Regions from separate parts of the Homo sapiens genome. Here regions 2, 3, 4, 5 and 6 are each linked to region 1. The links are contacts of gene promoters, found by promoter capture Hi-C in blood cells and fetal thymus (Javierre and others, 2016). All regions are on one chromosome and are shown on one strand. Each heading gives the region's core, a stretch centred on a gene start or on the middle of the fragment in contact. The rest is flanking DNA. Distances are from core to core; before and after follow the strand shown.

Region 1 (4,402 bases), core at 1,021-3,520:
ACTGCAAAGTTGGATGAGCCTAGCAATTCTTTATTAACCACTGAACTAAAAAGACAGAAAACTGGGATATGGCAAGACATCAATCATTAACAAACACTAAAAATGATTTTTCAGCGAATATGTAAAAGGATGTGGGTACCAAAATAGATAATTTCTCTCAAGAAATACATACTTTAATTGCTTTCTTTGCTGATAAATGCAGAACTTAAACGTCAACTCACTCTCGATTTGTTACCACAGAGGTGACTTTCTCATGGTCAAGGTGCCACGATGAGTGCCCCTCAGGCATGTATTTCCCTACCCAGGACTTGCTTTTGATTTATCCATGTCACACTATGCACACATCAAAAACACATCGACCTCTCTGCTGTAAAACAGAACGAAATCATGTCCTTTGCAGCAACATGGATGGAGCTGGAGGACATTATCCTAAGTGAACAAACTCAGAAACAGAAAATCAAATATTGCATGTTCTCATAAGCGGGAGCTAAACAATAGGTATACATGTACATAAGAATGGGAATAACAAGACACTGGGGACTCCAAAAAGGGAGAGGGTGGGAAGGGGGTGAGGGCTGAAAAATTAGCTATTGGGTACAATGTTCAATGTTTGGGGGACAGGTACACCAGAAGCCCAATCCCCACCATTACACAATATACCTATGTAACAAGCAAGCACATGTACCCCCGAATCTAAAATTAAAAAACAATCAAAAAGCACCGACTTCCTTAACTGGCATGGAATAGTTTCGAGAATGGATGTAAACACCGAATTCCTTAATGTAGTTGCAGATTCTGCCAGTTTTGTCTCAACCTCTGGATCGGTTCCTTTTTTTAACTACCTTTAATTCTTAAACAGATTGTTGCTATTGCTATGCTATATACTTATTGTATCACTTATAAATGTATAACCTCTGCAAATTAGTCTCTGAATTGAAAGTATTCATTGGTAAAACGGGTATTTCTTCACCATAGGAATAGTTGGACATGTTTAAATACTTGAGAGCTATTTTTATTACAAGCACACACAGCTTTGTGGTGTTTTTTGTTGAGACAGAGTCTCGCTCTGTTGCCCAGGCTGGAGTGCAGTAGTGCGATCTTGGCTTACTGCAACCTTCGCCTCCTGGGTTCAAGCAATTCTCCTGCCTCAGCCTCCTAAGTAGCCGGGAGTACACACTAATTTTTGTATTTTTAGTAGAGACGGGTTTTTGCCATGTTGGCCAGGCTGGTCTCAAACTCTTGACCTCAGGTGATCCACCCGCCTCAGCTTCCCAAAGTGCTGGGATTAGAGGTGTGAGCCACCGCGCCCGGCCTGTAGTGTGTTTTTGAACGTATATGTGAAGTTGTAGCTTTTTTTTTTTTTTTTTTGAGACGGAGTCTCCCTCTGTCGCCAGGCTGGAGTGCAGTGGCGCGATCTCGGCTCACTGCAACCTCTGACTCCCTGGTTCAAGCTATTCTGCCTCAGCCTCCAGAGTAGCTGAGATTACAGGCGCCCGCCACCGCGCCCGGTTAAACGTTTTGTATTTTTAGTAGAGACGGCGTTTCACCATGTTGGCCAGAATGGTCTCGATCTTCTGACCTCGTGATCCGCCCGCCTTGGCCTTCCAAAGTGCTGGGATTACAGGCCTGAGACACAGCGCCCGACCTAAGCTGTAGTTTTATGATTATGATTTATGGTTGTGAGGCATTGATTTAAGACATTTTAAAGCTTAAGTCGTCAGATCCTAGAAGAAAAAAAAATTCACCAAGACAAGCTAATGCCATTGTCATAAATGGGAGTTTGGAGAAAATTTTATTAATATTTGTTTGGGTGGTTTATGTACAGCGTTGAACTGATTTGAACCCCGACCAAACACTGTATGGAACTAATGTACGGTAGGGGAAATCATTAACTGAAGATGCCTTTTTTGTTGCTATTGTTTAGAACGCAGTTAGAAAATCTTATTTTAGAGGTTTTACCCCGTTGACAAAGCCTCAACTTTTCTTCAAAAGAACTAATTTCCATTTTACCTCCCCTACATTTTGAACAGAATATGGAAGAAGCCAGCGCCCCTTCTCCGCGGGCGCTGCTGCAACCCTGCTCCCGCCGGGGCTTCCGCGCGAAACCGGGAACACTGGAGCAGTACCGACTCCGCTCGCCTAGAACCCGCCCCAGCCGGGCCCACTTCCGCCAGAGCCCTGGCCGCGCCCGCCCCGCCCCACGGACCCGAGATTCGTCGGAATTTTCCCGCGACGCCGCGGGAGCGCGCGGGGCCGCTAGCCAGGCCCCAGAATGCACTGCTGACACGTGTGCGCGCGCGCGGCTCCACTGCCGGGCGACCGCGGGAAAATTCCAAAAAAACTCAAAAAGCCAATACGAGGCAAAGCCAAATTTTCAAGCCACAGATCCCGGGCGGTGGCTTCCTTTCCGCCACTGCCCAAACTGCTGAAGCAGCTCCCGCGAGGACCACCCGGTAAGCGGCAGGCCGCAGAACGCAGCGAGGGCGGAGGCTTCCCTCGGGGGTCTGGCCGACACGTCAGCGGCGAGAGCGGGAGGAGGAGGCGAGGGGCAAGAGGGAAGGCTCGCGAGAGCGGGTGGGCCAGGCGCGCCTTGCGGTGGGCGAGAGGGGTTCCCGCCGGCGCAGGGCTGTGGCTAAGGCTGAGGCGGGAGGCGGGAGGCGGGAGGCGGAAGGTGGCGGGCGGTGCCAGCCCGCGGGGCGGGGCCAGGGCGGGGAAAGCGGGGGCGGGAGCCGGCGCTGGGGTCGCGCGGAAGGGAGCCCCCGGAGAGGCGGGAGCCGGGTGTTGGCGTTTTGGTTCTTTTTGTTCATTGAGCGCAGGCAGCTATGTCTTCTTCAAAGGAGAGGAGCAAAGGTGAATTTCTCTGCCTCGGACTCGTGGGAGCCGTGAAAAGCTCGCCCCTTTGAGCCGGTCGCCCTCTACAGCTGGCCTCGTCCTCCCCGTCCCTCACACCCCTGCCCCCAAACCCCATTCGCCGGGGCGCCAGGAGGGGCGAGGTCCAATTAGAGGAGCCCGGGGCGCGGCTGTTACCCCTCCCGCCCTCCGCCTTTTATTCCCGGAGGGAGGCGGGTTCGCAGAGGCCAGTGTCTTCCCTCCATTCTTTTTGTGGACGCCAGGCCATATCTTCAAAGCCCGTGAGAGATTTTTCAGGTGCTGTTTGTTGGTTTGCTCTTTTTAATTTTTTAGGTGGGTGCGTTTACAACTACGAACCCTCTATGATCTTATGTGTCCAGCGCACCGAATGGGGGAAAAGACTTGGAGTTTTATAACATGGGAAATTGGGTACCAGAATCTTAAGGGAAGAGACCAAGGAGTTTTCTAGCAAAGTCCTGTATGTGCCTGGACTTTTGTTCTAATCTGAAACTTGGAAAACTCCCGGGCATCTGATTTTATTCTAACTTGTGCCCCATTTAATGCATCTAAACTGTGATGTGATTTGACTTAGCATTTATCAAATGAGCAGAGCACTTTTGGGCCACCCAACTTCAGCTCTTTGTGGCTGTCACTCACTGTCAGTGATATGCCCTCAGACAGATCGTTTTCTCCTTACTCCCCTGAAAGGTTGTTACAAACAGTAGAATTCATACCATGTGTTGAGATCATTCATTACCTAAGCTTAGATGGAAAACATGTTCATTGCGACTTTATACATTAAACTTGAATTGATGTTTCAATGTTATGTGCTGTACCAGAGTCACCTGGAAATAAGCACTCATATACATTATTCATATACAAGAAAGGCTGCATCGAAAAAGAATTTGTTTTCCTAGATATATCAGAGATCTTTTTCACCAACCCACTACTCCCAGTAATAGAGCCTGCTTCTTGAGAACTGGACTAATTATACTTTGTATATTATACATTCGAATTTATTTTTGCTTTATTCGGTCATATTTTCTCTTGATTTCTCCAAAAACGTTTACCAAGGCATCAGAAAAGAAAAGCAGGCTCTATATTGGTATTTTTTGTTTTGTCCTCTAATAAAAAGCATTAACTTGATTGATTGGCTGGTTGTGGAAGATGTGTTGCTGCATGTATGTGCAACTGTGCATGTACATTTTAAAACAAATGGTACTTTTAACCAGTTCCATATTTCAGCAGGTAGTTCCAATAACAATTATACAAATTTCGTGTTTATGAGAACCAGCTACAGGGAGGCCAGCCTGGCCAGTAGAAAGTTGGATTGATTATCTGGGCCATGGAGAGAGCCAGAGGAAACTCACATGAGTGGTAGTTCCAAGTTGGTAGTGTTAGGGCCTCAAATCGGGCTGGAAATGAGCACCAAATGATTTTTAAAAGTTTTATTTTAGGCTGGGATATGTGCATTCTCTGTCTTGTTTGTGGATCTTGAGTGATTGACTTAATGTGAAAAAATACATACAGGAGAAGCACCTTGGAAGTTTTG
Region 2 (4,402 bases), core at 700-3,199, 900 kb before region 1:
AAGTTAAAAGACTGCTGGAATTTTACCCTGAGTTAAAACCAAGTCCAGAATCATTACAACGTGGGTCTTGAATCTGAAGATGCCTTACTGACTACCCCCAAAAAGAGAAATTTGCATGTGTGGCAGTTTTCAGGAGCTGGGGATTGGAGGCTCAGGGGATGTGTATAATCCAGGCACTACTTCCCCTAGTGGCCAGTGGGAACATTTCCAGCAAGACTAAACCATTTCGGCTGGGGTCCCAAAATTAGGGAGATGAGGAAGATTAGGGGCACTAACCAATGTGTCATGAGTAGTAGTAGGTGTGTTAGTCACTGACCAAGGCATGAGTTGATTCCTAAAAAGGGGAAATAAATTTATGGCTTAGAATTTCTATTTAAGAATGTTTTAGGGATAGTCTTCTGGCGGGAGGGGCTAGATGTGCCATTTTATTTAGATGGTGTGTTTCCTGGGGTGGCTGAGGGTATGGGAAGATGGGATTTTTGATGGTCTGACTTTCCGCAAGTGTCCCCTGGTGTTTCCGTTGCTTGGTGTTGATTGTTGGGGTGTAGAGCAATTGATTGTCCCTAAACATTTTTGAGGATGCCTGGGTGTGGAGGACAGTGCTGTTTGTGGACTTTTGGCTGCCCACCTCTCTGCTTTGGTCTGCTTAAACCATTGATTTTCAAACAAGACTATGCTCTAGAATCACTGGGACAAGTTGAAAAATAAAGATTTGCAGGCTCTACTCCTGACCACCTGTAGCCTCTTTCTCCAAGGGGTGCTAAGCCCAGAGACCTGATGTTTGTTGTTTTTTGGGTAAAAATGGTTTTATTGAGGTGACACTGACATATTACATACAATAAATACATATTAAAATTGCCTAACTTGATATGTTTTGAAACTATCACAATCAATCACAATGACTACAATATTGATCACCCCTCACCCTCCCCAACATCCTTGTGCCTTTCGAAATATGTCCTTCCTGCCCCATCCCAAACTCTGGTGATGACTGATTTGCTCTGACACTATAGATTCATTTGCATTTCCTAGAAGCTTATAGGATGGAATCACACAGTAGGCATTCTTCTTAGTCTGGCTTCTTGCACTGAACGTAATTGTTTTGAGAATCACCCATGTTGTTGGCCGGGCACGGTGATTCACGCCTGTAATCCCAGCACTTTGGGAGGCTGAGGCGGGTGGATCACCTGAGGTCAGGAGTTCTAGACCAGCCTGGCCAACATGGTGAAACCCTGTCTCTACTAAAAATACAAAAATTAGCCGGGCATGGTGGCGGGCACCTGTAATCCCAGGTACTCGGGGTGACCAAGGCAGGAGAATCGCTTGAATCTGGGAGGCGGAGTTTGCAGTGAGCCGAGATCGCTCCATTGCACTCCAGCCTGGGGGACAAGAGCGAGACTTCGTCTCAAAAAAAAAAGAAAAAAAAAAGAGTCACCCATGTTGTTGTGTGCACAACATTCCTTTCTTTTTCTTTTTCTTTGTGTGTGTGTGTGTGTGTGTGTGTGTGTGTGTGTGTGTGTTAGGGGGGCGGTTTGGAGTCTTGCTCTGTGGCCCAGCCTGGAGTGCAGTGGCGCAGTCTCAGCTAACTGCAACCTCTGCCTCCCAGGTTCCAGCAATTCTCCTGCCTCAGCCCCTCCTAGAAGCTGGGATTACAGGCATGGGCTACCACACCCAGCTGATTTTTGTATTTTTGTATTTTTAGTAGAGACGGGGTTTCACCATGTTGGCCAGGCTGGTCTCAAACTCCTGGCCTCAGGTGATCCGCCTGCCTCAGCCTCTCAAAGTGCTGGGATTACAGGCGTGAGCCACTGCGCCCAGCCCTTTTTTTTTTTCTCCTGAGACAGGGTCTCACTCTTGTTGCCCAGGCTGGGTGAGCTGAGATTGCATCACTCCAGCCTCGACCTCCTGGGCTCAAGTGATCCTCCTGCCTCAGCCTCCCGAGTAGCTGGGATTACAGGCCTGCGTCACCACACCTGGCTTTTCTTTTTTTTTTTTTTGTAGAGATGGGATTTCTTCATGCTGCTCAGGCTGGTCTCCAGCTCCTGGGCTCAGATGATCTGCCCACCTCGGCCTCCCAAAGTGCTGAAATTACAGGCGTGTAATCTCATCATGCCCGGCCAGTGCATTCCTTTTTACTCCTGAGTAATATTTCTTGGAGTGTCTGTACTACAAATTATTTATTCATTCAGCTGTTGGTGGACATTTGGGTCGCTTCCACTCGGGTGCTATTACAAACAAAGCAATTATGAGCAGTCAGGTTCAAATCTTTGTATAGACAGATGTTTTTGTTTTTCTTGAGTAAATACCTAGGAGTAGAATGGCTGGGTCAGATGACAGGTGTATGTTTAAAATTTTATGAAACTCCAAACTATTTTCCAAAGGAAGGGGGTCATACCATTTTATATTTCTACCAACAATGAATGAGGAACTCAGCCCTCCTAGGGCCCAGTCTGGCGACTGTGACCGTATTCCAGAGGCTTTATAATCCTGTTTTTTTCCTGTGAGCAAAAAAGTTATAAAGGAATGAGATCTAGAAAAGATAGTTCTAGTTGAACCAAAATCTTTTATCCAGGGTGAGGGCATACAAACTGCAAGGGGCCTGGGTGGGGGAGGCAGAGAAGCGCCCGCCTCTTCCGACCTCTCAGGTGCGTGTGAGCCGATGCTCCGCTAGGGGGCGCGGGAGAGCAGGCCGCCCCCCGCGTGACTCTCAGAGCCCGAGGGCTCCCTCCAGGTCCGCTGCCTTCTGCCCACAGGAAGGAGTCACTTTCCCAACTGGCGGGGAGCGGGGGAGTCACTTTCCCAACTGGCGCGGGCGGGTTGGGAGGGGCCGCTGAGCCGCATCTGCCACAGTCACGAAGCTTTCTTAGCACCTCCTGGAGTTCAAGGAAAATCCAGAAGCAGCTCTTTCCTTGAAGGAAGACGTTCACAGCATCGCACCCACGAAGAGGGTGCGGCTTCCCCCTCTCACCCTTCTGGGTCTCGGCCGATCGCCTGGCAGTTGGGCTCGTGGCCCATCCTGCAGGAGGGCGCAGGCATGCATAGCGCCTGCGGAGGAGCGCTGCTCCTACGCCCCAGGCACGGCCCCCGCAGGCCGGGCAGTGACCCCGGTGGCCCGGCCCTTAGGGCGTGCGAGTTGACCGTGCCCCTTCTCCAGGACGCGCGGCCGGCGGCTGGGTTTTCGAACGCGCGGCTGTGAACGGCTCCTTGGCGAGGAGGCACAGCCTCCGCAGGCCGGAAGCCACGCGCCCACCAAAGGCACGAGGAGCAGGGCGGAGAGTACTGCGGGTCAGACGAGCGAGGCCCTCGGGGAGGCGCCCAGAGGAGCGGGGCAGCGCGGCCGCAGCGCGGGTCGGGTCCGCGGACGCTGTTCAGGCCCCACTGTGGGGCTGCTGCCCCTGGGCTGCCCTCCGGCTCGGTGGAGCGCGGGAGTGGGGGTGGGGGCGCCTCTGCTGCTTCCACCCCAGAAACCCGGGTCAGCGTTGGGAGCTGCACTGGGCGGCAGCGGAGAACATTAGAAGGGACAGTGTTTGGGTTAAAATCTAACCCTCGGTCGGGCGTGGTGGCTGAAGCCTATCCAACCACTTTGGGAGGCCGAAGCGGGAGGATCACGAGGTCAAGAAATCGAGACCAGCCCGGCCAACATGGTGAAACCTCATCTCTATTAAAAATACAAAAATTAGCCAGGCGTGGTGGTGAGCGCCTGTAGTCCCAGCTACTCGGGAGGCTGAGGCAGGAGACCCGCTTGAACCCAGGAGGTGGAGGTTGCAGTGAGCCAAGATCGAGCCACTGCACTCCAGCCTGGCGACAGAGCGAGACTCTGTCAAAAAAAAAAAAAAAAATCTATCCCTCATGATCTTGCTTTCTGTGCGTGTGTCTTTGCGTCAGGGGCAGGGAAAGCCTGTAGAGCACACATTGCCTAGTGAGGTCTTTACAACACAGGCTTTAATTATTTTCCTCCTTTCGCAGCTGAGAACAGAGAATTTAAGCAACTTGCCCAGAGTTCCAGAGCCAGACCTTAAAGGTAGGGCTTGTGACTCCGCATTAGGAACGTTCTCCTCCCCTGGATGGACCCGATGCCCCCGCACTAATAATCTTGAGCCGGAATTCAGCAACGCAGTGGTGACATTCAACCTTCCGCCTCACGGAGGCGGTGCCGGCGGGGCAGGGGATGGCCGCCAGGGGGCAGTGTGGCTCCGTGCCTCCGCGCCCGCTCCCGGACCCGCGCCCTGCCCCCACCGGCGCTGAGCCCGCCGGCGCTGAGCCCTCCAGCCCTGCTCCGCGTTCTTAGCAGCGTCGCCAGGCGTGGAAGAGGTTGGACTCAGGGCTACGTCTTCCAGTAGTTAAAAAACGGGGGGCCGAGGCCCCCACAGTTAAAGTGGGCGAGAGAGCAGCTTCCAGCATC
Region 3 (4,402 bases), core at 1,313-3,812, 830 kb before region 1:
TTTCTGGAAGACACAATAATAGGTATAAAAAACCACAAAAACGTTCAGACCTTTTGATGCCATAATTCTACCACTTAAAACATTTTTCAAGGGGATTATTAAATAGGGTTGCTTTCTAATTAAGAAAGCTCATTGCAAGATACTGTATAAGACCAAAGATTGCAAACAACTTAAATGCTCAGCAATATAGGATTGGCTGATGGAATCATTTGTTCAGCAAATACCACTGAGCACCCTACTGGAGTGCCTGCTGTGCTCTGACCATGCTTTGGGAATAAATATTCTTCTCAGACGTGTGCTCAAAATACACAGTGTGACCCAATGTCGAATGTACAAGTGTGTAAACTGATATTTGACCAAAGACAAATATTGCCAGCTTAGAACTTCTGGGTTTCATGGATACATCTGAAATTTCATTTAAGAATTTTTTTGTTTTGTTTTGTTTTGTTTTTTTAGACAGAGTGTTGCCCTGTTGCCTAGGCTGGAGTGCAGTGGCATGATCTTGGCTCACTGCAGCCCCCGCCTCCCTGGTTCAAGCGAGTCTCCTGCCTCAGCCTCAAGAGTAGCTGGGATTACAGGCGTGCACCACCATGTCCAGCTAATTTTTGTATTTTAGTAGAAATGGGATTTCACCATGTTGGCCAGCCTGGTCTCGAACTCCTGACCTAGTGATCCACCCTGGGCCTCCCAAAGGGTAGGGATTACAGCCTTGAGCCACTGCACCTGGCCTTATTTAAGAATTTAAATCATGTTTCAGTTTTCATTTAAGAACTTTAGTAGTTAAAATTGTATCTGATTTTTTGTTTTTAAATTGATGCATAAGACATGCATATTTTAGGGATACAAGTGGTAATTTTATATATTTGTGTAATTCATACAGATCGAATCAGTGTACTTGGAATATCCATGCCTTAAATATGTATTTTTCCTTGATGCCAGAAACATTTGAATTAGTCTCTTCTAGCTATATGGAAATGTATCTAGATTATTGTGGACTGTAGTCACCCTACTGATCTATCAAACAGCAGGTCTTATTTCCTCTATCAGACCAGAGGTTTGTACCCAGCAGTGACATTTTAAAGCTTAATATTTATAGTGTGATAACAGTGACCTCTCAGCACCGTCACCGGGCAGGGTGCTCCTGTGGTCACTGTTTTCAGATCTGCAGTGGAAACAAAAGTCCATTTCCAAGAAACCAGTGGGGCCGTACAATATGCTTTGGTAGCTAGCTTAGTCAGCACCAGATTCCGCAGAAGATGCTGGTGCCTGAAGCAGATCAATGGGACGGGTGCCACGGTGGGTTACCGTGTAAGAAGTAAATGTAGCATGTGAGTCAGCTTTCCTTCCTTTAAGCCAGTGGTTCTAGGGGTGATTCTGCCCCCCCAGGTGACATTAGGCAATGTCTGGAAATTGGGGGAGTGTTGGGACCAACATCTACTGGGTTGAGGTCAAGGGTGCTGCTAGCTTTTTATGATGCACAGGACACTCAGCCCCTTACAACAAAGAACCACCTAGTCCAAAATGTCAATAGTGCCAACCACAGTAGAGAAACGCTGCTCTAAACATAGACACAGTAGTCTCCCTAGCTGTGGTTTTGCTTTCAGCCGTTTCAGTTACCCACAGTCAACTGTGGTCTGAAAATCGGTGAGTACAGTACAATAAGATACTTTGGGAGAGAGAGAGAGACCACATTTACATAACTTTTATTACAGATACTTTTATCATTGTTCTATTTTATTATTAGGTATTGTTGTTAATCTCTTAGTGTCTTAGCCTTAATTCATAAGTTAAGCTTTTTCATAGGTATTTATGTACAAGGAAAAATGTAGTACAGTTGTTCGTCTGTATACCTGAGTTCTCACCCCTTGAACACTGTATTCTTGGTCCTGGTTTCGTTAAAAGAGTCTAGGTATTACTGCAAGGGTCTGGTGAGGGCTAGACAAACATCCCTGCAGAAGGATCGGTATCACAGGGACACTAACCCAAGAGGCCAAGTCTGTCCTGGCGTCAGGAAGGGTCCCACTGGGGAGAAACAAATGGTTTCACACTTCAAACGTTTTCAAGTGGGAACGTGAACCACCCGTGCTGTCTGACAACCTGTGTTGTATATGTAGGGTCCATACTATCTGCAGTTTCAGGCATCCATAGGGGGTCTTGGATTGTTCCCGCAGATAACGGGGGACTATTGCAATTGCTAACATCAAGTGTTCTCCTTTCCCTACCACCTGGACTTGAAGATGGGGTTGCAGGAAATGCAGCAGCCCCGGAAACAGAAGCTGCGTGCTCTGCTCGAGGAGCCTTCTGGACGCTTCAGCAGCAGTCTTCAGATTGCTGCCTTTCCTCAGTCATCTTCATTTCCAATAATTTGCATGCATTTGAGGGAAAAATTGTCCTCAAGTGTTGGATCTAAAAATTAACAGTGGAGCACTGGAATAGGCTTTTAAGCTAACACTGTGTCTCTAAATGTCCATGCTCCTCAGCGCTCCTTGCAAGCAAGTTAATCCCAGCACCTTTCCGGCTAGGAAAATAGGAGGGTCTAAAGCAGGCTGAAGAAGAAAATAAGTGCTTGCCTCCCAAAGTCCATGGAGTAGGTCACTTCTTCAGCACATTCCAGCAAATGAGCTGCGTTCTCTGCAAGCAATCTTATGCCAAATTGGCATTGCTTCCCACATGGTACAATTTTAAGACTTTTTTTGTTCTTCAAGCAGCCTTTGAACACGGAATAGCTACTGTTCCAGTTTATTGGAACATTTTGTAAAATTACATGATAAGCCGGTTCCAAAATCTTTTCTATGTCATGTAGTTTATCTTTGGATAAAAAAGAATGATGAAAGCAGCCCACTTGCTGGAGATTACAGGCAGCAATTCTGTGCCATTATTGCTTTCTCAACACACAGCTGAAGAGTGTGAACAAATCATAGGACGCTTGTGATTCCCAAGTCACTTGTAGCCATCACCATGTTTGTTCCATTGCTGGAGACAATTGCCCAACACTTTACTTGATGGACTTTTCATTTCATAAATATTTCTCCAATAAGATTCCTTTTACTGGGAAGAACCAAAGCCTCTTGGCAGCAAAATAAAGATGAGCGCACTCAGCCTCACCATTAATCCACCAGGCTGTCAAACTGATGGAAAGAATACAAAAGCAGCACATTTAATAACACCATTAAACTTTGTGCATGCAGCAGCATGTCATGCAGGAAGAAAGCATTTCGATAACATGGTTTCTGGAAAGAACTTTGTACCTGATCACTTGAGTAAATTACAAAAGTTCTTTGTCTTCATCCACTGAATACAGTTGTCAGTGGGTAACATTTTGAGAAGCTTTTTGTTCAAACATTTGGTTTCCACAGAACTGAAATGTGTTTTGAAAGAATTCATGTGAATTCTATTGTTTTGAATTTGGCTAGTGAAAATGTACATTGTGGGTGCCACGTTTTTCCTGAGTACCTCTTCATCCTTTTATACCCTTTGTTATAACTGGATCAATCATAATTTTCCAGGTATCTGTTGCGATTATTTTGGACTTATTTTCCTCCTTATGAAATTTTGAGGTGACAAAGATGATATGCTGCTTGCCATTTATAGATAAGAATATCTAAATCAGGGGTGTCCAATCTTTTGTCTTCCTTGGGCCACATTGGAAGGAGAATTGTCTTGGGCCACATATAAAATACTCTAACACTAATGATAGCTGATGAGCTTAAAAAATCGTAAACAAATCTCATAATGTTTTAAGAAAGTTTACGAATTTGTGTTGCACCACTTTCAAAGCCGTCCTGGGCCACATGCAACCTGCTGGCTGTGGGTTGGAAAAGCTTGATCTAAGCAGAATATTTTCTTGAAAGACTAATGGCCTATGTGAAATTAAGGAACTGAAAATTAAATGTAGATCTTAAAGTTTGTTTAAGTTAATATTATCAATGCACCCATTCAAATAATTCATCAAATATTAGAATTATAGTATAATCTAGTGATTATTTTCCTCCGTATTACTGAAATTTTTTTTTTTTCAGGAGATGGTGAATTTTATTTTGTCTTGTCTGGATAGAGGTTTTGATTTGCTCTCGAATGTTCCAGGGTGGAGAGAAACTAGGAGAAAAGCACAGGATGTAGAGGTCTATTCGGCATAATCTTCTCCCTCATTTTCATCTTCACCATCAACAGAGAGAGCAGCATACTTGCTTGCAGAACTGAACTTGGAAGCTGGATTTTCCTCAGGTTTCTTTGGCTCAGGTGCAGATCTGGAGTCTTGATCCTTTTTGCCATCTTTCCTATCTGACTCCTTCCAGTGGTCTTTGTTCCCTCCATCTCCTGGACCACGGCTAGAGTTCCCAGTTTGGCCTTTTGGGACATTCATCCCATCTACTTTGTTTTCATCTTTCCTTGCTGGTCCTTC
Region 4 (4,402 bases), core at 720-3,219, 740 kb before region 1:
TTTTCACTTTGTTGATGGTGTCTTTTGAAGCACAAAAAATTTCTAATTTCAATTTATCTATTGTTTTCCTTTGTTGCTTATGCTTTTACTGTTATATCTAAGATACAGACTGTATCTTCATTGCCAAATCCAAGGTCATGAAGATTTACTCCTATGTTTTCCTCTAAGATTTTTATGGTTTTAGACCTTACATTTAGGTCTCTGATCCATTTTGAGTTTTTTTTTTTGGATATGGTGTTGGTTCTTTTGTGTGTGGCTATCCACTTGTCTCAGCACCATTTGTCGAAAGACAATTCTTTCCCTGTCAACTAGCAACCTTGTCCACAATCAATTAAACGTACACATACAGGTATGTTTCTGGACTCTATTCTGTTTTGTTAATTTATGAGTTTATCCTCATGGCATGTGTTAGTCCATTCTTTGTTGCCATAAAGGAATACCTGAGGCTGAGTAATTTATAAAGAAAAGAGGTTTATTTGGCTCATGGATCTGCAGGCTATAGAGGAAGCATAGCACTGGCAATAGCTTCTGGTGAGGCCTCAGGAAGCTTCCAATCATGGCAGAAGGCTAAGGGGAGCCAGTGTGTCACATGGCAAGAGAGGGAGCAAGAGAGAGAAAGAGAGAAGAGCTGCCAGGCTCTTTTAAACAACAGATCTCATGTGAACTCACAGAGTGAGTGAGGACAGCACCAAGCCATTCATGAGGGATCCATCCCCATGACCCAAACACTTTCCACTAGGCCCCACCTCCAGCCCTGGAGGGCACATTTCAGCATGAGATTTGGAAGGCACAAAACACCCAAACCCATATCACATGCTGTCTTGAATGTTGTTGCTCAGGGGTGGAGCCTTTCATGTGACTCATTCCCCCTGCTGATGAGCTCCCAGTCAGGGCCCAGCCAGGTCCTGCCCCTGCCCCTGTGAGAGTGGGGCCTTTTAAAGGTGCTGCTGCCCTGGGTATTAGCACCTGACTATGTCTCTGGCCACATCCTGTGTTTCTTCTGCCTTCCGGCCCTTCTGTTGGTCTTCACAGCTCAGGAGCATCTCCATCAACCCATGGGCATGGCTTCTGAACACCTGGAGCAGTATGAGTTTTGGTGGAGGGCAGTGATCACCCTGACAGCCTGCAGGAGGCAGGGGCTTCCGCCACACTTCCTGATCCCCACCAACACAGGCCTTTGGGGTTGGCTGTACTTGTTCAGCTCTGGTGCAAGAATATAAAAGTTGAGAGACAGAGAAGATATTCCAATAAGAGAAGTTATACCTGAAAGAAAAAGAATATGGCCCAATCCCTCTTAACACTTAGACCACTAGCTGTCAAATATCCCTAGCCTTCCATCCTTTCAAAGGGAGGTCAGAAAAAGATGCTGAGAAGCAAATCCATTCATCCTCGGGAGTATCATGGCTTTAAGAACCTTCCTCAATCTGAAACTTTTCTTCAAAGAGAACGTTTACAAACTCTCTAGAGAACACAATAGAATCTAAAACTGGAAAGACACCTGAAAAGGGGAGAAGATTGCTATCTTCAGGAGAGAAGTACCAGGGAAAAGACACCTCCCAAAAGAGTGCTTTTCACACAAATGAGGGACAGGCAGAGGGCTTGGATTGTATGTCTCCAGAACGAGGTCACTCAGGCGCTTTGCTGGGAAGTGAGAAGACCTTATATGATCTGGGGATGTCTTTAACCAAAGGATCACTGGCGATGGTTATGGACACAGAAAGCGTTGGCTAATCTATGTCATCTGGAGCCCAGCTGGAAGGGATGCGGGTGCAGGCAGAGAGTCCAATGACACCCTGAAGGGCCTCTTTGTTTCCTAGACTAGGAAACAGCATTATCATTTTGCAAATAGGAAGTGAAACATAAGGAAGGCAGAGACCAATGCCTGGCTGAAGTTGTAAGATCAGAATTCCAGAATCTGTACCAGCACTATCACCACTAGCCCCACCCTTAGAGGTAAGGGAGAGGGCACAGAAGGGAAGAATGTAAAGCCATAGAGAAAAGGTCATGGCACACAGGGCTGGCTTACACAGACCTGCCATGTCCAGAGAGGCTCATCTCAGGTCCCCAGTCTTCTATGCTGAGACGCTGGGGCCAGTCTTTTTCCCCCCCTTGCCTTTAACAGTGCCTTATTTCCAGTAAGCACTAGGAGAGTCCAGGGCTGCAGTGAGGAATTGAAGAGTGGACTTGAGGGTCTCCTTTGCACAAGGATCAAAGAATGCAAGATGGCGAGGGCCCCTGTGGCTGTGCTCTGTGGTGGTCCTGGGGCTTCAGTCTGTTTCTAAGGTGTTGCAGGCAGGGATTTTCTTTCATACCATAACATTTTTTTTAGATGATAAATACATGTTCATTTTAAAAATGTGTTAAATCAAGTTTCACCTGAAGCTGCCTCCTTAGCTATTTTTAGTTTGGCCTAAAGGTTTTTCTGTACATCGTGAACTATAACAAGTATAGGTGTAAACAGACCTTAGCCTCCACTTGTACTAATCACCGAGTTTTGGCCAATCAAATGTAGCTGTTTGAACTCTATTCAAATAAGGCAAATGCCAAGCTGTAACCAATCTGGCTGCTTCTGTGCCTCACTTCTGTTTTCCGTAGGTCACTTTCCTTTTTCTGTCCATAAGTCTTCCACCACGTGGCTGTGCTGGAGTCCCTGATCCTACTCTGGCTGGGAAGGCTGCTCCATACCTGAATCACTCATTGCTCAATTACACTCCTTTAAATTTAATTCAGCTGAAGTTTTTCTTTTATCAAATGCAAATAAGCAAAAGGATAATGACAGTTACCTGGAATCCCACCTGCCAAGTTAACTATTTGTGTCATTTTCATACCTTTTCTTCATGACTTAAAAATACACACATGCATGTACACACACACACATATGATTTCTTCAAAAAATGGCATCTCACTACAATGCTCTTTTGTAAGTTTTTTTTTTTTTCATTCAGCTATATATGACGAATATCTTCCCATGTCAACTGGAGTCTTCCACGCATCCTTGTTTAGGCTGCTGAATGTTCCCTCCAATGGATGACGCATCTCAACCTTCTAGTGACGGTGCACCAGACTAATCATTATAAGTTGAGCAACACATTTTTGCCTCTCTTGCACACAGTTTACAACTTTTCTCAATGAAACAGAGGCCTAGAAAAAGGAGGACCAGCAAAAATAGTGGTCCCATGCCAGGCAAACACTGAATCCTGTTTACGAATTCCTTGTTTTTGATGGTTCCCTTAAGCTCCAGTGAAACCTATGGCTTCCCTGAAATAGATAATACTTAGTGATCTGCAAGGTATAGCATTGCTATATAGTTGTTACAATAATAATAATAGTACTGTTATTATACATTAAGTTCTGGGCTTTGAGTCTATAGTGGAAACCTATAAGAAGCTTTAGAATTACACAAAGCGGTAGGCCTGCTTCACATGAGCCACAGATGTGCTCCTGAGAGTTTGGGACAATCTAAGTGTTTAATGGCTCAAATCATACATTTCCACTTAAACTTGGTGATATGGTTTGGCTCTGTGCCCCCACCCAAACCTCATTTTGAATTGTACTTCCATAATTCCCACGTGTTATGGGAGGGATCCGGTGGGAGATAATTGAATCATGGGGGAGGTTTCCTCCACATCGTTCTTGTGGTAGTGAATAGTCTCACAAGATCAGATAGTTTTATCAGGGGTTTCTGCTTTTGTGTCTTCCTCATTCTCTCTTTGCCTGCTGCTGTCCATGTAAGACATGACTTGCTCCTTCTTGCCTTCCGCCATGATTGTGAGGCTTCCCCAGCCACGTGGAACTGTAAGTCCAATTAAACCTCTTTCTTTTGTAAATTGCCCAGTCTTGGGTATGTCTTTATCAGCACTGTGAAAATGGACTAATACACTTGGAAATGGCTAAGTTCCCTTTTTAAATTGGTTTTCAATTTTCCCTGCTCTTAATACTTTAAAATTCTCCCAAGAAGTTAAGGCTGGGTGAACATTAAACCTTCCAGAAGAACATGCTAAAGGGTCGTCCACGTGCAGAGAGTCCTTGTGTGCTGCTTCTGTCACCCCCAGACCCACTGTCCACCTGCCAGCCCCCTTCTGCCCTGGAAGCCTGCCCTGCATGGCTGCATGGACTGCACTCTACAACTCCTGGGCCCTCTGGCTTCTGGGTGGGTTTGGCCAGGGGCCGGGGGAGCCCCAGCAGGAGTTCAGGGGGAGAGAGGAAGGTGAGGCTTCTCATTGCTCTGCATCCCCCGACTCTGTAAAATCACCTGTGGAGGGGCTGTCCTCCTCACAACTTTCTCCTTCCATGTTTCAGTTCTGATAACCTCTCCCTCCCTCACCCCGCTGGATCTGGTGCGAGTGACAGCTCACCTGCTGTGGCCTGGGGTTCCTGCATGGCTCCCCTGCACCTGCCCACA
Region 5 (4,402 bases), core at 1,221-3,720, 700 kb before region 1:
CCTCTGCTAAAGGGTGGAGAAAGGAACTTCTGATCAGTTACAGAAAAGCTTTGGGGTTACGTGGTGCAAGCTGCTCTGCCTCTGTTTGTGAAGAAATTAGACTATGGCCAGCCATGTGAGTGGCATCACTTTGGTTTCTGGAGCAATAGTTAGTAGCAACTTTTAGAGGTGGTCATTTCGGTTCCCTTCTGGAAAGTGATTCGTGTTTAAGAAAAATAGATGCAACGTTGCTAAGTACACCTAACATTTAAACAGTCTCCAGCAGATAAATGCTGATACTGACACTTCTCACCAGAAAAAGAGAAATACCCATCATGAGGAAGAGAAATGACTTTTGTTCAGTTATGCTCCCGGGTCCCCTTTCACTGGAGGGATATCTCAGCTTTCTGAGCCCCTGGTTACTGCAATCCTCGGTTCCAGAACCCAGCAATTCCTATCATCACAATTGTTTCAAGTCTTATCCAAGCCCTGTATATTTCAGATCATCCTTAATTTCTTGTTCTGTACCCAGAGGAGATCAGGAAAACCTTTAAGTCTCTATGTGAGGCAAATACATCCTCCTCACTGCCCCAGCCCCATGTGATTGATGAAGCAACTGAGGAAGAGAAGTAGGGTGCTTCTGGCACTGGAGGAGCGCAGTGCTGAGAAACTCCGGGCTCCATTCGGAAATAGCACTGATTTCTTAGTGTACTTTTTTTTGGTGTTAATATAGAAAACATCAAAAACACAGTTAAAAGAATGAAGCATGTCTACATACGTGTGGCCAGAAAGACTGACCAGAAGCTGGTAGCAGTGAGGGATGACAGTGCTTGCCCCTGGGTTGAATAGTGGAAGAGTTAGGGGGGAAACAGTCTGCTCTTTGAGACCCTTTCAATTTCATGTGATGGATTTACAGAGACAGATGAATTAAACATTATATAAAAAAGGAATAAAACCACTGGTAGGATCTGTATTCCAGGAAGAAAAAAGCATATTACATAATAGGTCAATGCACAGAAATAAAAAAAGGAATTTAACTAGAGCCTATGCTAATCATAAATCCCTTCCCTGTTCCAGAGTCCTGTTGTCTCTGGGGTCTTGGCCTGTCTTATCTAGGCCATGGAGTGGTGGGGGTGGGATGCTGCTAGTTCCTAGGCAGGAAATAGTGGCCAGTTACCCTTGTGGTGTCATTTCTGGGTCCTGGAAAGGAGACCACTGCTGACCCCTGACTCACCAACCAACAATTATTGATGGAAATCCCACCGGCCTCCCCGGACAAAGGCAGCCCAGACCTGGACTCATTCACATGTAAAGGAAGTGGCCAGAAGTGGCTGCTGTTGGCAGGGGTGAGGGACGGGAGAGCGCGCTAAGTGGCCTGTGTCTGTGGGGGAGGGAGAGGGTGGAGCAGCACAAGCCGGCCTGAGGTTAGGAGCCTGCGGTATCTCCAGGAAAGCAGAGGCGGCTGTGGGGGGCGCCGGGGCTGAAGAGCCAAGTGTGGAGACTGCTCCATCTTGCCCATCTCCAGAAACTCAGACCACCCATCCATTAAAGGCAGGTGGATGAGCAAGGGGGCCTCGCAGGCATTCCAGATCACACTGAACCTGTGCCCCACTGCCTGACCCATTCAGCATCCCTATTAACAGACACTCGCTGCCGTCTGGCCCGGACCCGGCTGGCGCTGCGGGTCCTTCCACCCCAGTTAGGAAGGGTCATGGCTCCCGCGGAAGCCCCTGCCAGGGTGAATAAACTCGGCGTGGGGCTGACGGGCTCTGAATTACTCCGTTGCTTACAAGCCGAGTGCCCCTCTGTGCCTCAGTTTCTCCCTCTATAAAACAATACGAATACCGGCCCAGAAGCGTTGTTGGGCAGATTAAACGAGAAAATCCACTGGAAGTGTTTAACAAACGACACACAATACGGGCTTCATACCTGCCAGCCGATGTCCCCTGCAGCCTTTATTCCCTACCCAATTCCCCTTAGCCTGCTATGTGGAGATACAGGAGGCTTGCACCCGCCGCGGTCCCGGTGTATTTTAACGGGCTCCCGGGGAAGCGGTGTGGAAAATGGATTAGGGAGGGAGGAGGCCAGAGCCTCGGAACCCGGGGAGAGGTCTGCAGGCATCCAGTTGGGAGCTGGAAGGGCGGGACAGGGCCCTTGGCAGGGGGATCCAGGAAATATTTTGGAGAAATTCTCTCTAGGACTTGGTAACAGGTTGAGAGCGGCCACTTGGCCGGGGGCGCCGGCTTCGGAGGCGGGAGGGAGGTGGAGGAAGGGAAGGCAGCTGCAGGGCCGACCTGCGGGGTGGGCGTGAGGCCGGGGGATTGGGGCCGCAGGGGTTCGGCCTGGAGGAGCGGCGTGGGGGCGCCGGGGCCCTGATTCCATCCTGGGCGGGTCGGCCCCGCAGCCGCTGCGCTCGGAACCCCCTAGGCGCCCCGCAGTACCCGGCGTCCTTCCTGCCTCCTCCTCGCCCCTGTCCTCCGTCCGAGCCCCAGTCCCGCCGACCCTGCCGGCGCCTCCGCCCTCCCGCCCTCCCGCCCTCGGTTTCCCACGACCTCGGCGCGACGCGCGCGGGATCCAGTGGAGACTGCTTTCCCATAGGCCGCCATCCAGGGCGGGGAAGGGAGCGGACCCTCCCGGCTCCAGGTGCCTGGGCCCCCGGCGGCCTGCGGAGGCCTCGCCCCACGCCACCCGCCCACTGGCCTCGTCTTCGCGCGGGGGTGAGAGCAAAGGAGGCACTCGGCCCATCGCCAGCCCGGGTCCCCTTCCTGCCCGTCGCTATCCGAGAATTTGCCCCGTGTCCCCCAGGCCGCGGGGGTCCGGAGAACCGAGGGGCGGACCCCGCAGAGGGCTGCGCCGCCCTCCCTTCTCTCCCCGCGGGAAGCAGCCCCCAGGACCGCCCCTCGCTCCCTGCCCGGGAGGGACTGGGCTTCCCCGAGGTGTGCGGCTCCTGGAGAACTCGCTTTCCCGTTTCCAGCCGGCCAAGCCATCAGTTAATCGCTTGCTTTCTCTTTTCTTTACAGAGAAAAGCAGCCTGATTCGGAGGAACGGGTTGCTTGGGGCGGCTCCCAGCTCGAGTTGTGGGCCCCGCCGCGGGTGCCCTTCGGAAACGCGCTGACACCAGGCGAAGCCGCCTCTGCCCGGACGCAGCCCGACACTTGGCCCGCGGGGTTCCCCGGGACGCCTGAGAGTAATGGGCGCGAGGGGGAAAGCCGAACGGCCTCCCTGTGCCCGGCGCAGGCGGTGCCCCCTAGCTGGGTTCGCCGCGGCGGCGCTGCGAGCCCCCGACACTGAGGACTTTTGGTCCAACAGTCCGACGGGGCCCGGTGCGCCGTTCCCTCCGCCCTCTCCCCGCTCCCCGGCCCGCGCGTCTTGGAGGGTGGGTGAATTGTCGGAAGCACTCTACGCCTGGCCAACCCAAACCAGGAACCTCCGCACCAAACAGCCCACGTTGCTGCTGCTCTGGGGTTTTAACGGCCAAGGGAGACTGGAGAAGGGGTGTTCTGCCTTCCCATTCTCTTAGGCCCGTCCACTCCCCATCCCCACAGTTTGGAAGTGGCCTTTTCTGAGGACTCCAGCGCAAAGCATGTTTCTCCTTTTGAGCTGCGGAAGCCTTGCTTGTTCCCGCCATTGGGAGGGCATTCCATCATCTGCAGCTGCCTTCCTCGGTGGGCCTTGTCCCTTAGCGTCCACCTAGGGGACATTCTAAGCTTCTTGAGACCTGCTTGTCCACCCCAACATGTCTCAGCATATGGCTGTGCCCTAAGGGGTCTTTGAGGGCATTTTAGGAGGTGAGCGGCGCCCCTACCTGGGCTCCGCGGGGCCGATTCGGTTTGCCCTTTGCTGGCATGTCAGTGAATTAACTGCTGTCCTTGGGATGACCTGCCCTATGATTTGGCCTCTGGAGCATCCCGGGTGTGTATTTCAGAACTCCTCCCATCTTATCCACCTGCTGAAGGCCTGGCCCCCTGATATGGTTTGGCTCTGTTTCCCCACCCAAATCTCACCTTGAATTTTAATAATCCCCACGTGTCATGGGCGGGACCAGGTGGAGGTAATTGAATCATGGAGGTGGTTTCCTGAACGCTGCTCTCGTGACAGTGAGTTCACAAGATTTTTTTTTTTAACGGAGTATCACTCTGTCACTCAGGCTGGAGTGCAGTGGCGCGATCTTGGTTCACTGCAACCTCTGCCTCCCGGGTTCAAGAGATTCTCCTGCCTCAGCCTCCCGAGTAGCTGGGATTACAGGTGCGCGCCATCACGCCCGGCTAATGTGTATTTTTAGTAGAGAAAGGGTTTCACCATGTTGGTTAGGCTGGTCTGGAACTCCTGACCTTGTGATCTGCCTGCCTCGGCCTCCCAAAGTGCTGGGATTACACGCGTGAGCCACTGTGCCCAGCCGATCTGATGCTTTTATAAAGGGCTT
Region 6 (4,402 bases), core at 124-2,623, 590 kb after region 1:
GGGAGGCCGAGGCAGGCGGATCACAAAGTCAGGAGATCGAGACCATCCTGGCTAACACGGTGAAACCCCGTCTCTACTAAAAATACAAAAAATTAGCCGGGCGAGGTGGTGGGCGCCTGTAGTCCCAGCTACTCGGGAGGCTGAGGCAGGAGAATGGCGGGAACCCCGGGGGGCGGAGCCTGCAGTGAGCCGAGATCGCGCCACTGCACTCCAACCTGGGCGACAGCGAGACTCCATCTCAAAAAAAAAAAAAAAAGTAGAAGGAAAATAAGTTGCTGAGAAATTAAAGGAAGACAGGTGACCTTTTGATTTGAGATGTCAAGAAAGTGCCCTCTGAAGAGGTTCAGTAAACTGAGAAGCAGCCAACTCTGTGGAGAGCTAAGGAAAGAACAGCCAAGAGAAGAATCTACATGTGAGCAAGCAATAGGGAAGGGGCAGAATGTGGTGCCTTGGAGAAAGTGAGAAAGTAGGTCATGGGAAGAACAGAGGATGAGATCAAGAAGGCAAGGAGAGTCCCCATCATGCACAGACTCTCTGGGTTCCTGTGAGGAATACGAGTTTATTCGAAGTGTAAGGGGAAACTAGTGAAGAGTTATCAACACGTAAGTGACAGGATCTAGTTTTATAACATCACCCTGCTAGCTGCTGTGTATACATGAAACTTTTGAGAAACAATTTAAAAGGATGCAAAGAGAAGAGTTGCTTTTGCAATGAGCAGGTAAGAAATGATAGAAATGGACAAATTTCAGGAATAATTCTGAGGTAGATGTGACAGACTTGGAGATGAGTTTAGATAAGGGAGATAAGGAAAAGAAAAGTGTCAAAAATAATTCTTAAATTTGGGGCCTAAGCAAATAGCTGGATCATATAGCTAAAACAAGGTTTGTTTCACCTCCTTTCAAACTTGATTTCTTTGCTTGTTTCCAAGTCAGTCCTCTAGGTTCTCCTGTCACCTATCTTTCCTCAGTTTCTATCACTGGCTTCCACTTTCCCTTTTCCTGAGCTCTTTTTTCCCTTGGCTTTCTTAGGCTCCATCAGAGGCTGCAAACCCCAAAGCCTACAGCAGCCGGGCAGTTAACACAAAGGAGTGAAGCCCAGGGATAGAGACTGTGGTGATCTGGAGCTCGTGGTCCCTACCACAGCTCTGTTGATTTTTGCCAACCAGGAATGCTGACCCGGTGATGTCAGATCCCCTGCTTAAAAGATAATCGAGGGCCGGGTATGGTGACTCACGCCTGTAATCCTAGAACTTTGGGAGACTGAGGCGGGCAGATCACAAGGTCAGGAGTTCAAGACCAGCCTGACCAATAAGGTGAAACCCTGTCTCTACTAAAAATACAAAAATTAGCCGGGCGTGGTGGTGGGTGCCTGTAATCCCAGCTACCCAGGAGGCTGAGGCAAGAGAATCGCTTGAACCCAGGAGGCAGAGGTTGCAGTGAGTCAACATCACGCCACTGTGCTCCAGCCTGGGTGACAAAGTGAGACTCCATCTCAAAAAAAAAAAAAGAAAAAGAAAAAAAAACACCAATCGATATACAGATATTTACATGAAATCTCACAAATTTTAAACATTGCTCACTAATTCACATTTTATTAAACTTCTGTTTTGGACCAAACAAAACACATCTGCTGTCCATATGAGGCCTGCAGGCCTGCACAAACTTTGCCTCCTTGATGTGTATTTTCCCAGGGTGGTGACTTTGTCTCTTGTCAGGTGACTACCACCTGTAAGTTTGTAAGCTGACAATTCCCAAGTCTATCTTTCCATTCAGACCTGTTTAAAAATTTCTTATTCAGGCCGGGTGCGGTGGCTCATGCCTGTAATCCCAATGCTTTGGGAGGCCAAGGCGGGAGGATCACCTGAGGTCAGGAGTTCGAGACCATCCTGGCCAACATGGTGAAACCCCGTCTCTACTAAAAATACAAAAATTAGCTGGGCGTGGTGGCATGCACCTGTAATCCCAGCTACTTGGGAGGCTGAGGCAGGAGAATGGTTTGAACCTGGGAGACGGAGGTTGCAGTAAGCTGAGATCATGCCATTGCATTCCAGCCTGGGCTACAGGGCGAGACTCTGTCTCAAAAAAAAAAAAAAAAAAAAAAAAAAAACTTATTCAAATATCCAGATTCCACTTAAACATCGGGCTAGCATTTAAAAACCTGAACTCGTCCTCTGTCCCCACCTCCAAACCTGACCTACTCATGTATTTTTGTCTGAGTTAATAGCATCAATATCCACCCAGTCACCCAAGCCTGAAATCCAAGATCATCCTAGACTTGTCCCTCTTTGTCATCCCACAGTCCAATCAGTATTTATCACACCTGCTCATCACCTCCATCCTTAATAACTCTTGCACTGGCTCAAGACTTCATCTTTCTTGGGAAACCTCAGTTTTCTCACTTATAAAATGAGAAGATGGAACTAGAAGATTCCTAAGATGTATTTATTTCCATCTTTATAGCCACCAAACATGTCAGAATAGTTGCCTGGAATTTGGGGTTTTATCTCATTGGGTTTTTTGTTGTTGTTATTTTGCCTGGCTATTGTTATGCCAAGGATATTGTGACCAGGTTGACAGGGAAAACTGGACTTGATAGAAATAAATACAAAATGAAATTAACAGTGGCCAAAACTGAACACAATTTAGTTATAAAATTAAAACTGACTGAAAAATAACTGCTGATTGGTAACATTGAAAACAGGAAAAATTGGCCGGGCGCGGTGGCTCACGCCTGTAATCCCAGCACTTTGGGAGGCCGAGGCGGGCGGATTACGAGATCAGGAGATCAAGACCATCCTGGCTAACACGGTGAAACCTCATCTCTCCTAAAAATACAAAAAAAAATTAGCCAGGCGTGGTGGCAGGCACCTGTAGTCCCAGCTGCTCAGGAGGCTGAGACAGGAGAATGGCGTGAACCCGGGAGGCGGAGCTTGCAGTGAGCCGAGATCGCGCGACTGCATTCCAGCTGGGCGACAGAGCAAGGCTCCATTTCAAAAAAAAAAAGAAAAGAAAACTGGAAAAATTGAGAAAAACAGACATGGTAAAATGTGTCACTTATTTTAAATTGATGAAAAAATCAATAAAATCTTTTTGACAAGATTTAGATCTACAAAGTTTCAGCGGAAAAACAACTGGTCTTGGTTAATTAACCACAAAAGAAAACTCATAATGTCAGAAACTCTAATGACTATAATTTGTCATGAAGTCAAAAAATAATGCTAAATTGTAACTTCAATGGGAAGCTTACATGTAAAAGAACTGGAAATGATTCCAGTGAAAATAATTCTAGTGAAGTAGAAAAATGAGAAACAGTTATATAAATGTTATATAACAGTTTGTATGTAATATAAAATTTAAAACATAAAATATTAAAATGAATTTTTTATAAATTTACAAAATGAAATTTGCTCCAGGACATACTTTTATTGATGCAAATCATTGATGCAAATATAATTTTGATTTAAATGTTTGTGTTTATATATACAAAATCAACACCTCATGGAGTCAAAGTGACATGAGTCAACATCTTGTATTCATTTGGTTACTCCTGAGAATACTAAGTGTTCCACTTGCAAAACTTACATTGATGAGTATTCATGTCGCAAGCAGAGATATACCCCTAAGGTCTGGGCTTAGGAATGTGTACTCCCTAGTGGATATGATTTTCATTAATGGGTTGAGATATGATTTTCATTAGTGACTTTTTTCCCCTCTGATGCTGTCAGCTCCATGAAATCTACTCATATCCTCACCGAGATTTAGTGCATTGGATTAAAGTTCAAAGAATTTCTGACAGAATTAGCCCAGATGAACTAAGTTCAATAGAGGAGAGGATGACAGAGATTGCTGGCCGGTCCTCAATATCCAGTTGTTGTTGTTGTTATTTTATTGTTGTTGTTTCATAATACTAGAACGCTCACATTCTAGGTAATAAAATATCTTTATCTAATTCTAACATGGCCACCCAGAAGAAAGACAACATTTTTCAGCCTCCCTTGCAGCTAGCTGTGGCCCTGTGACTATGCACTGGGTAATGGCTGTAAGAGAAAGTATCATGTAGCAAGGTGTGGCAACCATCCTTACCAAACAGATAAGACAAAAGTTTGTCTTCTTTTTTTCCATCATCCTTCCTTTTGATTGAAATGCAGATGTGTTGGCTTGTCTAGGTAGCCATTTTAGATCATAATTCAACCCTCAGAGCATTAGAGGAAAGCAGCAAGATAGAAAGAGTTCGGTCCCTGAGGACTTCGTGGACAGAGCTACCACATAAGTTGCACTTTAACCAAGATAAATAAGCTGCACTTTCATTTAAGTCACTTTATTTTGGGTCTATGTCTTCCACCAAATCTAATTCTAACTGAATCTAACTGAAGGACTAGGAGTCAAAAGAAAAATACACAGTA

Evidence for each region. The method cuts DNA at HindIII sites, captures the fragments that hold promoters and counts their contacts. A CHiCAGO score of 5 or more calls a contact.
Region 2: a contact is called between a fragment that was not itself captured here and the fragment with the promoter of FANCC in region 1, in 2 of 17 cell types (fetal thymus and M1 macrophages). The highest score is 6.0, in fetal thymus.
Region 3: a fragment that was not itself captured here is called in contact with the fragment with the promoter of FANCC in region 1 in 1 of 17 cell types (fetal thymus); the score reaches 6.6 in fetal thymus.
Region 4: a fragment that was not itself captured here is called in contact with the fragment with the promoter of FANCC in region 1 in 4 of 17 cell types (naive CD4 T cells, naive CD8 T cells, non-activated CD4 T cells and 1 more); the score reaches 7.6 in naive CD4 T cells.
Region 5: a contact is called between the fragment with the promoter of LINC00092 here and the fragment with the promoter of FANCC in region 1, in 1 of 17 cell types (M1 macrophages). The highest score is 5.1, in M1 macrophages.
Region 6: a contact is called between a fragment that was not itself captured here and the fragment with the promoter of FANCC in region 1, in 3 of 17 cell types (total B cells, naive B cells and fetal thymus). The highest score is 6.5, in total B cells.

The regions. Positions count from the first base shown.
Region 1 is chr9:95,315,577-95,319,978 of GRCh38, reverse strand. FANCC (FA complementation group C) reads left to right here and starts at 2,270. Exons shown (of 15, transcript NM_000136.3): 1 at 2,270-2,453. RefSeq lists a silencer at 2,599-2,918. The HindIII fragment of the contact is 1,904 bases long and covers 1,711-3,614 here.
Region 2 is chr9:96,218,113-96,222,514 of GRCh38, reverse strand. No RefSeq gene overlaps it. Among named protein-coding and RNA genes, the nearest start is that of HSD17B3-AS1, 26 kb to the left of the region's middle. RefSeq lists a silencer at 4,067-4,276 and an enhancer at 4,287-4,402. The HindIII fragment of the contact is 1,823 bases long and covers 1,038-2,860 here.
Region 3 is chr9:96,147,578-96,151,979 of GRCh38, reverse strand. It overlaps the pseudogene EIF4BP3. Among named protein-coding and RNA genes, the nearest start is that of HSD17B3-AS1, 97 kb to the left of the region's middle. The HindIII fragment of the contact is 1,535 bases long and covers 1,795-3,329 here.
Region 4 is chr9:96,053,795-96,058,196 of GRCh38, reverse strand. No RefSeq gene overlaps it. Among named protein-coding and RNA genes, the nearest start is that of LINC00092, 34 kb to the right of the region's middle. The HindIII fragment of the contact is 2,840 bases long and covers 550-3,389 here.
Region 5 is chr9:96,019,879-96,024,280 of GRCh38, reverse strand. LINC00092 (long intergenic non-protein coding RNA 92) reads left to right here and starts at 2,470. Exons shown (of 2, transcript NR_024129.2): 1 at 2,470-2,696; 2 at 3,000-4,402. LOC105376159 (a long non-coding RNA gene) reads left to right here. Exons shown (of 2, transcript NR_188619.1): 2 at 1-1,021. It also overlaps a transcript of ERCC6L2 not described here. RefSeq lists enhancers at 1,048-1,548, 2,981-3,030 and a silencer at 3,241-3,290. The HindIII fragment of the contact is 3,638 bases long and covers 51-3,688 here.
Region 6 is chr9:94,721,561-94,725,962 of GRCh38, reverse strand. No RefSeq gene overlaps it. Among named protein-coding and RNA genes, the nearest start is that of AOPEP, 2.9 kb to the left of the region's middle. RefSeq lists an enhancer at 4,347-4,402. The HindIII fragment of the contact is 3,741 bases long and covers 1-3,243 here.